Regions from separate parts of the Homo sapiens genome. Here region 2 is linked to region 1. Evidence: promoter capture Hi-C in 16 types of primary human blood cells and fetal thymus (Javierre and others, 2016). All regions are on one chromosome and are shown on one strand. Each heading gives the region's core, a stretch centred on a gene start or on the middle of the fragment in contact. The rest is flanking DNA. Distances are from core to core; before and after follow the strand shown.

Evidence for each region. The method cuts DNA at HindIII sites, captures the fragments that hold promoters and counts their contacts. A CHiCAGO score of 5 or more calls a contact.
Region 2: a contact is called between a fragment that was not itself captured here and the fragment with the promoter of CLRN3 in region 1, in 1 of 17 cell types (monocytes). The highest score is 5.9, in monocytes.

The regions. Positions count from the first base shown.
Region 1 is chr10:127,889,131-127,895,305 of GRCh38, reverse strand. It overlaps CLRN3 (clarin 3), which reads left to right and starts at 2,365. Exons shown (of 3, transcript NM_152311.5): 1 at 2,365-2,750. The coding sequence starts at 2,522. The HindIII fragment of the contact is 797 bases long and covers 1,765-2,561 here.
Region 2 is chr10:127,956,924-127,963,098 of GRCh38, reverse strand. All of the region lies in intron 1 of PTPRE (protein tyrosine phosphatase receptor type E), which reads right to left. Among named protein-coding and RNA genes, the nearest start is that of PTPRE-AS1, 26 kb to the right of the region's middle. The HindIII fragment of the contact is 566 bases long and covers 3,242-3,807 here.

The DNA.
Region 1 (6,175 bases), core at 1,116-3,615:
CTTTATACAATGGTAAATGTGATCTATTGACATGAAAGGATTGCCATGGCAAGTTGTTGAAATTTTTATGAAGCAGATTATAAAATAGAACATAGAGTAGGACTCAATTGTATTATAAATGTGTGCATGGTGCTACACCAGATGTTTGTCTCCTCTGAAACTCATATTGGTGAGTTTCAGTGTGGCAGTATGGAAAGTTGTCACTTTTACGAGGCAATGGAATTATGAGGGCCCTGCCCTCATGAATGTATTAATTATTTCATGGACTAATGGATTAATGGATCGATGGGTTTTCTCCGGGGTGGGACTGGTGGCTTTATAAGAATAGGAAGAGAGACCTGAGCTAGCACTGTCAGCCCACTTGCTATCTGGCCACCATGATGCGCGCCCTGTGCCACCTCAGGACTCAGAATCCTCACTAGCATGAAGGCCCTCACCAGATGCAGCCCCTTGACCTTGGACTCCTCAGCCTTTAGAGCCATAAGAAATAAATTTCTGTTCTTTATAAATCACCCAGCCTCAGGTGTTCAGTTATAGCAGCAGGAAGCTAAGACATAAAGCTGTAGGTATGAAAGTCTTTGCCCAACTGTGAACACAATTACTTCTTGTTGGATAAATTATTTATTATATTTACTTTCTTCTTTATTCTTGCCAGTTCCATTTGAATACATTTTTGTAATAGGCCTATGTAATACAAAATACAATAATAAATACAAAATTATTTTCCACACTAGGAATAGGGCCAGAAGGAACTAACTACTGAAATTCTGTCCCACCCTTTAAAAGTGTGGTCAAAATAAATAGACTTAAATGGAAAAAATAGTAAATTTTCCCAATAATATACATGTTTTGAGGATGTAGGAAAGTGTGCACCTTCATTGTGTTAAGGGCATGGTGGGTGACTGGTATCTTTTTCTAATGAGCAGCTGGGCAATGTGTAGCAACAGCTTCAGTAACATTCACAGACTTTGACTCACTTCTAGAAGTCTAACCAAAGAAATAATCAGAGATATGGACAAAGGTTTATGCATAAGGATGTTCATGCATTGTTCTTCCTTAATCATAATTTTAAGATAGAAACAACATAAGTGTCCACAGTAGTAGAGTATGTGTGTACGTATCTCCAATAATTTATTGAACAAATGTTTGCTGAGTGTCTTCTCTGGGCCAGGCTCTTTGAGAGTTCCCTGGAATCCAGTGGTACACAAAACAAACATGTCCACCTCCCGGAGCATGTCATCTAGTTACAATAACGGAAAAGACAGATGATCAGCTAGTTCCACAAATAAGTTAGGTGTTAATGAAGAAAAGTAGAGGATGAAGTAATTGCGTTTTTTTGCCATTAAAAGTAAATGTAACTTTTAATGGCAAAAACTGCAATTACATTTGCACCAACTTAATATTATATTACTAAATAATCAAAGAATACAGTAAAAAGCGGTATGGAAAACATGCTATGAATGTCTATTTATCATCTCAAGAAATGATCTTTTCGCCAAATGGGAGAGTTTTTCGAAAGTCCAGAAATGACCATTTATAAACTATTTACCATTCAACAGAGTGGATACAGCTATAACGACCAAAAACAAGAATGTTCAGAACCATCTCTATCAGAGTACTAAAAAGTAATAAAGATGAAACTTCTCAAGATATAATTTAAATAATACGCAAATATGATCCAATTTGAAAGAGGAAATTTGAAAGCCAAACCTCTCTGATAAAGTCTAAAAATAGAGAGGTATAAAACATAAGGAGGTGTAAGCTTTTCTCTTTCCACTCCACAGTACATTTGACAAAGGTTTACCCTCCTTAGGATTCCTCTTGGAACAATTATAAGAGTCAAATCACTAATGAGTAAAGAAACTGAGCAATGCATAGCAAAAACTTCAGAAAAATCCACAGACTTCGTCAAACTTCTAGAAGTTTAAGCAAGGAAGCAAGTGGAGATATGAACAAAGGTTTATGCCTAAAGATATTTGGGTGTTGTTCTTTCTCAATCATAATTGTGAAATTGAAGCAACATAAATATCCACAATAGTGAAGTATATGTTTACATATTTCCAATAATTCTTGGAGGAGTTGGGGTTTCATGTTGTTGTCTGCTAGACTCAGCAACGCTTTGGGAATACAGATCCTCCACGCCCTATTATTTAGGAATTCTACTCCTGTCATGATATGGTAGGCTAAACTTGCTTCCATGACACTTGGCCAAGGATTATAAATTAATTGCATGATTGAGGAAGTCCCTGGGAAGACCATGCCCACCCCTTGTTCATGCTGGTTGGCTGTAACCATAGCAGCCTCTTACTCCAGACCAAAGTTCAGCTACTGTTAATTTTATGGCCATGTTCAGAGTTCAATGTCCATTAGCATAACCCTTCCTCAGGAAGAGTGAGATTTTATATTTGACAATAAAGTGTTAGACTCCATTTCTAAATACCAGACTTCAAAAGATAAGGTTCAAAAGTGTTATAAGAAGATATTCCTTTTTTTGTCCTAGAGAACTTATTTTCCTGTGAAAATGCCTACCACAAAGAAGACATTGATGTTCTTATCAAGCTTTTTCACCAGCCTTGGGTCCTTCATTGTAATTTGCTCTATTCTTGGGACACAAGCATGGATCACCAGTACAATTGCTGTTAGAGACTCTGCTTCAAATGGGAGCATTTTCATCACTTACGGACTTTTTCGTGGGGAGAGTAGTGAAGAATTGAGTCACGGACTTGCAGAACCAAAGAAAAAGTTTGCAGGTAAATGATAAACTAATTTGAATGAATATAGTGAGATTGAATTAAGGTTTATGTCATTCTATATTTGGGCCAAATAACCATTCAAAAATAATTTCTTTGTAAGTTTTGGGTTAGGCTGAAGGTACAAGCTTAACTCATAATTTTGGAAATTTGCCATGTCATTATTTGAGCTTCCTCGGTTCTCCTTGTGTCTATTAATACAATAGTCTATATCATTCTAGCAGTGGCTGTATTTAAATAATACCTACCAAGTTGACTGACAAGTAAATAAGTAAAAATATGTGGCAGCAATACGGCATTGAATAGCCAGTAGGAACACATGTTTTAACTGTATTGACTGGGTTTTTAGCTGGAGCCACAACCTCTGTCTAGAACTTCACAAGTGGCATCTATGCAGGAAAGAGTAAAATGGAAAATTTATTATCTCTATTTCTCAAGTTCATTTCTTTAACTGATTTTAATTTACCTCCAAAAAATCTAATCGTTGGAAATTATATTAAATTTCCATTAATTTATTAATTGTATATTTGATAGGAATTCCTAAACATTTTTTTTTCTGATTTCTTATATAATAATGCCCTCCTCTCCATGGAAGTAAAATTAAAAGTTCATTGAGAATAATAAGTTGATTTAGCTACTTATTTGACTTTTGAGGTTTGATAACCTACCTTCATGTTTTCTAAATTTAAAAACATTTGTAAATTATGTAACACATTAAGTGGACTTTGTTTTGAACAATGTTGTATGCAAGTATTATACAGGCATTATTGGGTATCATACAGTCATTACCTTTTGACTTATAAATATGCATCATTTTCTACCTTATACACATGTAATGTTTAGTCCTTGTGTAATGCATGAAGAAGTTTGAGTCCTAGACACTAGCTCTAAGTTCTAGCTCTAGTGTGTTTATGACTTTGTTAATGAAACTATTTTCTTAAATCCAAAGCAACCTGGTTATGTTCCCAAGTTATACATTTGTCATTTAGATGTTAGCAAAAGCAGCATCTCCCCTAGCATTGCCATAGCCTTTCAGGGACATCTCCTCTGGTGTCAACCTCAGCTTCCCATAAGGATGGGGAACATTGGCTTTACAGCAACTTTCAGAGACTCAGTCATGCTTTCAGTTATGTGAATAGCATTTTCAAAACCAAAAACTGCCCTGAAGCCTCAGACACATTTAACAAATTTTAAGTAAGAGACAAAACCTACAGTTTTTTTTGGTTTCCATATGGTGTCTGTTTGGAACCAGTTGATTTCCAATTTGAGATAAATGGCTTCAAAGAAAGCATCAACTATCTCTATGCACGGAGACTCAGAGGAGGCCAGGATGTGTCAGGACCTGGCTCTAAAGCCCTGTGTGCATGCAGGTGAGCATGGTGATGTCAGGGGACCAGAGCAGGCACTTGTCAAGGAGAGCCCTGAAGGGGCCCAGGGCCAGGTAGGTGCGGCAGCCCAGGTGGGAGCACAGCCAGGCAGAATATTTGCCTTCCCTTTGCTGGATCTCTACTTTAAGTCTCTGTTACTGGGGAGCCACATTCTGACCTTCCCCAAGTCACTGCCCAACCTCCTAGTGCTGAAGAAGGTGAACCACCACCCAATTAATGAAGGGGCTGCACTGTCACTCTGGTTGACACCTAAGGACCTCTCAGAGCCTAGGGGATCTTTATTGCCAATGATTGTAATAATCGCTGGGCTTGAACACCTGTAAGCAGTTCTCTCAGACAGGGGAAAGTCATGTTACTGAAATCTTCAACTTGCGGTGTTCAGCTGCTAACGATCCCGGGATGCTTCTCCTGGGAGCAGCCCTGCAGTGTGTACATGGAGACGTGGGTGCTCTCCTGTGGTTTCTCGTGGTCACTTGGGGCTTTTTTCAAATCAGAAACCAACCATTGGCAGCACAATCAAATCTGTACAAACGCCCCTTTCTTGCCCAGCGGTGGTGGACTGACTGTTCCAATTGAGAATTTAACCATATCAGCTTCTTGGCTAGCATGAGGTCACATCAAGAGTCCCCCAAGAGTAATAATTATTGCAAAGCTCTGCTATATTTCTGCATGGTATTTATCATATTGAGCCAATTTTGACTGTAGATTTGAAACGAAATAGCAGAAGGAAGCAATGACAGCTGATTTCAAAGTGCCAAAATAATTCAGCCAACATTGGTCAATCTGTGGGGAAAATCGTCCTTCAGACCTGGTAAGGAAATCCTCCAGTGTGTAACTGGAGGGTGCGGGCAGCTCAGGCTGACTTGCTGCATCCTAGTTTGTCCAACATCCAGATGAAAAGTGACAGGTCCTGTATGTCCATCTGTGAGCAGGTTGTCTTTGCTACTCCCAAAGTTCTGGAGATCTAATTTCTGTTCAAAAAAACTTCCCTGAGCAGCTGCTGCATGTATAAGGGGCTCAGGATACTGAAAGGAATTGCACATGGTTCCTGGCCTTGGAGGGCTCACCATTCAGTGTGAGATTAAGACCCTTCCTCAGCTAAAATCAGTGCCCTGCACTCACTGCTGGAGCATGGTATGTGCAGGTCTGCATGCAAGCAAGGGGGTTGGGGGAAATGCATGTCTGCAAAGCCCAGTTGGAGGACAGAATCCTGAAAAATGAGCTGCTAGGAGGTGTAAGCTCACACTGTGGACACCCACCTCCTTCTCGGTTCTGGATCTTGGGTGCCATGTAAAAAGAAGTCATTCCTTTAACTCTGTGTTTTGAAAATGTGGTCAGGGCCCCGGAAGCACAATGTGCTCTGTTTCCTCACACTGGCAAACATGACAAAATGAGTCATTCACATTTAGGACATGGAATTCCTGTGAATGTCGTTTCAAATATTACTCAGCCTACGCACTGACCAGAACTTATTTTTTACAGAATCATTTTGACAGGAAAAGTGTTTATGATAGTTTTGTTGTTGTTGTTGTTGTTTTGTTTTTTCATCACCCAGGCTGCTTCACACCCAGACTGGAGTGCAGTGGCGCCATCTCGGCTCACTGCAATTTCCACCTCCTGAGTTCAAGCAATTCTCGTGCCTCAGCCTCCCTAGTAGCTGGGATTACAGGAATACACTACAACACCCGGCTAATTTTTGTATTTTTAGTAGAGACAGGGTTTCACCATGTTGGCCAGGCTGGTCTCAAACTCCTGACCTCAAGTGATCCACCCACCTCGGCCTCCCAAAGTGCTGGAATTACAGGCATGAACCACTGCGCCCGGCAAGATTTTTCTTTTCTTTTTTGAGACAGCGTCTTGCTTTGTCGCCCAGTCTGGAGTGCAGTGGTGTGATCATAGCTCACTGCAGCCTCTACCTCCTGGGCTCAAGAGATCTTCCTGCCTCAGCTTCTGGTGTAGCTGGGATCACCAGCACACACCACCACACCCAGCCACTTTTCTTACGTTTTGTAGAGACAGGGTGTCACCAGCCCAGGA
Region 2 (6,175 bases), core at 2,275-4,774, 67 kb before region 1:
AGTGTCTGGCCTCCACAGGCCTGCTCCTCAGAGGCACATCTTTCCTGCAGCCTCAGCCAGTGTTTCTCAGCCAGAGACCCCTAGTCAAGGCCTATAGACCCAGGTTTCCACCTCTACATAGGAATCCAAGGGCACCCCAACTTGGGACCTCCAGAGCCCCCAGCCCAGCTCTCCTCTCTCCCAGCCCCTGGTTCCTGGGATGCAAGATCCTTCCTGTGCACCTGGGCGTGACCTAAGCCCAGGATTTCTCCACCTCAGCACCGTGGACATTGCGGGGGCTGGGGACTGCCTGGTACTGTAGGCTGTTCCGCTGCATCCCCGGCCTCTGCCCACTAACTGCCAATGACACTGCTCCCTCCTTGGCCATAACAATCCAACCTGTCTCCAGACACTGCTGATGTCCTGGGCGTTGGGGAGGGCACAGCCGCCCCGCTGAGGGCCTCCGGCTTAGACTCCTGCTCCCCTGAGCTCCCTCGGCTTCATTGAGGCCTCTGTGGTGCAAGTACTGATGCAGAACTGAGCGGGAGGCCTGACCCCGCCCTGCAGAGCCCATGTCACCAGGGCACACTCCATCGACCCCTCCCCGTTCAGATGCAGGGTGGTCTCTGCTTCCCCGGGGAGGTCTGTGTCCAGCGGAGCAGCTGCGGGTGCACAGAGCACTGGCCCTACAGTCACTGTCCTGCAGCTGAGCCATCAGAACAAGTGACTTTGCCCTTTGAGCCTCGGTCACCTGGCCTGCCTCATGGGGCCTTGAGAGTTACAAGAAAGGAGCCCCGTGGCCTGGCATGTGCCGCACTCACATGCCGTCTGTGCCAGCCTTCCCGCAGGTTCAGGGAGTGGTACCTGGGGCTGCCCCTCCATTAGGGGCTAGAGCCACGTGTCCAGGCAGCAGGGACCTCTGCAGCCTCTTCCTCACCCCCCACTGGCACCCAGCACCATGGGCTGCTCCTCCCTCAACCTCTGGGCCCTGGCAAAGAAGAAGAACAGAATACTTACTGTGCTTCCCTTTGTTATTTAGAGCTTAAGAAAACAGGTAATAAATTCCTATTGTTTGATGAAATTAAAACAGCCCAGTAATACCCAGAGAAAAATGGAGTCTCTCTCCTACCCTGGAGCCAGCATCTCCTGAGTGGTAACTGCAGGCCGCACATCCTGCAGAACCAATTTCATATATTCTTTCACTCACTCATCTATCCACTCATTCATTCATTCCACAGGCACCTGGGGAGTACCCCAGGGGTACCCGGCCCGGCTAGTCCTGGCGGCAGAGCATGAGCAAGACAGCCTGGGTTCTCAGTGCTGCCTGCAGTCTTGTGGGGGAGACAGGAATAAATACACCAAGGTACAAATAAATATGTGACTACCAAGTGCAGTGACAGGTAGGAAGGGACAGACAAGACGCTGGGGAGAGTCACACAGTAAAGGACAGCCAGTCCTAGCGGCCCGCTTTCTCTCGCTGGGGGGTGGAGCGCTTATGCACAGGTGTCACCCAGCAGTCTAAGGCGGGGCCCACCCTTGTGAAGAAGTGAAGAAGGCTGTGCCTGCCAGCATCAGTTCATTCTCAAGTTCCAGGCCACCCCAGGGGCCTCCTGGGGGCCCTCCTTCCCTGTCCTGTTGCATCTTGCTGGAGAGAAGAGCCCAGGCCACTGTGGGTCTTTACCGTTTCCTCTCCCACCCCCACCCTGCCCCAGAGAGAAGCTTCTAAAGAAGGCTTTTCAATTCTCTGTGCTGGGTGCCTTACAACACCTCCCCAACAAGCCCACACTGTTCTCATCCTGCCTCCGGCCAACCCTGCTCCAAAAAGGGGACGCTGTCACCAACAACCATAGGAAATAATTAGACTGCAGCTGGGATATTTTGCTGAATGTTAATCGTTTTCATTTGTGTGGTCTGAAATAAGTACTTCTATGCCCCAGGAGAAGGCCACATACATGCTGGACACGTGTGGCTGAGAAAGACCCCTCGCAAAGCCCCGGCTCTGCCCAGAGAAGCCCGTTCCTTGGCATCGTCTGAATGCACACTAACAGCAGAGAGGAAGGGTGAGTGGGAACTACTTGTTTCTGTATTTTTTTTTTTTTTTGACAGAGTCTGGGTCTTTGGCCCAGGCTGGACTGCAGTGGTGCTATCTCAGCTCATTGCAAGCTCTGCCTCCCGGGTTCACGCCATTCTCCTGCCTCAGCCTCCTGAGTAGCTGGGACTACAGGTGACCACCACCACGCCCGGCTAATTTTTTTTGTATTTTTAGTAGAGACGGGGTTTCACCATGTTAGGATGGTCTTGATCTCCTGACCTAGTGATCCGCCCACCTCGGCCTCCCAAAGTGCTGGGATTACAGGCGTGAGCCACCGCGCCCGGCTGTTTCTGTATTTTTTGAAAAGCCTCACGTATTTGGACTAATGGCTAAATGCTGATAAATCAGAGCAAGATCTGGGCTATGGCAAGTTTACACATTTATTGAGCTAGGAGGTCCAAGATGACTCAGACCAACTCCTGGGGCTGTTGAAAGATGGAGCAGCCCAAGTGCTCAGGCTCACAGAGAACCAGGTAAAGCTGCAGGGAACGGTCAGACCGGACTCGGGGGAGGCACGGCTGCCAGAGCTGAGTGCTGAGGGGCAAGAAGGAATCCACCAGACTTAAGTGCACAGGACACAGAAGTGATCAAAGGGCCCAAGGCCAGAAGAATTTGACAAAGGATCTTGCAAATGAACAAATAAGAAATCTTTGCTATTAACGATAGAGGGGTTTGTCTGCTGCTATGCATTTTCTTGAACTCTCTCTCTGGAATCTAACTCAGCGCTCACTTGCTGGGTGTCTGCAGTATGAAAGCACAGCACAGGCAGCAGGGAGAAAGGTCTGCTGTCACACACACAGCCAGCCTCGTCCTTCAGTGTCCACCCCAGATGCCACCATCTGATCATTCAGCAACAGGATCTCGAGTCCCTGGGGCACCCGCATGCCAGCAAGCATGCCCAAGCTGGAGGGATTGGTCTCCTTTCTGACCTGCGTCTGCCATTCACTTGTTTTCCCAGGTCTTTTATTACTTCCCATCTTACATAGTAATAATCTGCATCTGTCCTAGCTTCCCCAAAGAGTTACATTCTCCAAGAGGACAGGCACTAGCTTTGATATCGTCACATCTCTTACAGCACTAAAGAGAGTATCAGTAAATCTCCCTTTGAATGAATTAATAATAAAGGTAAGAGCTCCCATCAGTGCCCTGCCAAGCACTGTGCTAGAAGCTTCATAATATCTCATGGACCCTCACAAGCAGCCTGCAAGGTGGGTCATATTATTTGCACTTTACAGTCAGGGAAAGGAGAATTAAAGAGACAAGGAGACAATCCTAAGTCACCCTGCTGGGAAGTAGCTGACCCAGGATCATACTGGGGAAGGTCTGACTCCACAGTTGTGCCCTCAACACTATGGAGAAAGTGCTTAAAGCTCGTTGAAAAGTGTGTGGCTTTGGACACAACATCTTCCCCACAATGGACTTCTGCTTTAAATTTGCCTGGCAATCACTTTCTTTGCAAATTCAGAAAGGTCACCTTCTGTCAAACTTATTTCAACAATTATTACAAACATAAATTAATGAGTCTGAGTTATTGGGGATGTATATTTACACATTAAAAACAACCACAAAAAAGTAATTCAAGAAAATGCCCAGGAAGGCATAAGAAAGGCATATGCTATCATCTTGAGGCAGGACTTATTTCTGGTAAATGGGTTCAGTAGGAGGCTATTGAGTGAATTACCAAATGAATGAATGTACAAATGAATGAATGAGTGAATGCATGAACTGGGTAAGCTTTTAGGAAACTCTTGCACTGTTTTTCTCCACTCCCCTCAAGTCCCAACTTGTTGTTAACCTGGATTTCTGTTTAAAAAAAGAAAATAGGCAATTTCAGCCGGGCGTGGTGGCTCATGCCTATAATCCCAGCACTTTGGGAGGCTAAGGCAGGCGGATCACTTGAGGTTGGGAGTTCGAGACCAGCCTGACCAACATGGAGAAACACCATCTCTACTAAAAATACGAAATTAGCGGGGTGTGGTGGCGCATGCCTGTAATCCCAGCTATTCGGGAGGCCGAGATGGGAGAATCGCTTGAACCCAGGAGGAGGAGGTTGTAGTGAGCTGAGATCGTGCCATTGCACTCCAGCCTGGGCAACAAGAGTGAAACTCCGTCTCAGGAAAAAAAAAAAAAAAAAAAGGCAAGTTGAATAGAATTATATCTATTGAAGAAAATAAATAAATAATTAATAATCTTCTAAAACAGAAAGGACCAGGCACAGATGAGTCACTGGTGAATTCTACCAAATATTTAAGAAATAAATTAAATCAATTTTCTATGATCTCTTCCAAAAGATAGAAGCATAGGGAACACTCATTGTATGATGCCCATATTACCCTCAATACCAAAACCAAAGGCATTCCAAGAAAAAAAACAACAACACTATTGACCAATATCTCTCATGAATTTAGCTGCATAATCTTCAACAAAATATTAGCAAATCAAATCCAAAATGTATAAAAATAAGTATTCACCATAACCAAGTGGGATTTATCCCATGTATAAAAGGTTGATTCAAATTTGAAAATCAATTAATGTAATCCATCACATCAACAGGCTAAAGAAGAAAATCACAAGATTATATCAACAGATGCAAAAAAAAGCACGTGACAAAATTCAAAACTGACTCATGATGAAAACTCTCAACAAACAAGGAATAGAAGGAAATTTCCTCAAGTTGATAAAGGACAGCTATGAAAAACCTACAGCTAATGTCATACGTTAATGGTAAGAAACTAGACATTTTCCCACTAAGATCAGGAACGAGGCAAGGATGTCCTCTCTTGACACTCCTTTCTGATATCATATGGGAGGTTATGGTTATTGCAGAGACAAGAAAATAAAATAAAAGATATACAGGTTAAGAAGTAAAAAATGCAAATATTTTTGTTCACAGATTACATGATTATCTATGTAACAAACCTGGAAGAATAAAAACAAAACAAAAAAACCTCCTGGAACTAATAGGTAACTATAGTAATGTTTCAGGGTATAAAGTTAATACAAAAAGTTAGTCACTTTTCTGTATGCCAGAAGTGAACAAGTGAAATTTAAAATTAAAAACACAATCCTATTTATATTAGCATCCCTAAATATGAAATACCTAGGCATAAACCTAACAAAATATGTACAAGATCTATATTAAAACTCTGATGAAAGAAATCAAATAACAACTAAATAAATGGAGAGACATTCCGTGTTCACGGATAAACAAATTTAAAACTGTCAGGATGTCAGTTCTTTCACTTGATCTACAGATTCAATGCAATCCCAGTCAAAATCTCCACCAAGTTATTTTGTGGATGTCAACAAACTGATACTAAAGTTTATACAGAGAGGCAAAAGACTCACAATAGCCAACGCAATATTGAAGGAGAAGAACAGAGTTGGAGGACTGACACTACCTGACCCCAAGACTTAACTATAAAGCTTCAGTAAAATAATCAACATCATTGGAACAGAATGGAGAGCCTTTCTGATATCATACAGGAAGTCATGGCTGTTGCAATGAGACAAGAAAATAAAAGGTATACAGATTAAGAAGTAAAAATGCAAATATTCTTGTTCACAGATTACATGATTATCTATGTAACAAATCTGAAGGAAAAAATCCAACAGAATGGAAGAGAAATAGACCCACATAAATATGGTCAACTATGTTTAACAAAGGAGTGAAGGCAATACAAAGGCAGAAAGATTGATGGTCTTTTCAACATACGGTGCTGGGACAACTGTAAATCCATATGCAAAAAATGAATCTACACACAGGCTTTATACCCTTCACAAAAAATTAACTCAAAATAGATCATAGACCTAAATGTAAGATGCAAAATTATAAAACTCTAGAAAATAACAGAAAAAAATCTAGATGACCTTGGATAAGGGGATGACTTTTTAGATACAATACCAAAAACATGACCCATAAAAGAAAGAATTGATACATTGAACCTCATAATGATTAAAAACTTCCTGCTCTGCAGAAGACACTGTCAAGGTAATGAGAAGACAAGCCACAGACTGGAGAGAAAACATTTGCAAAGAACATATCTGATAAAGGATTTTTATCAATAATGTACAAAAAAAACTCTTAAAACTCACAATAAGAAA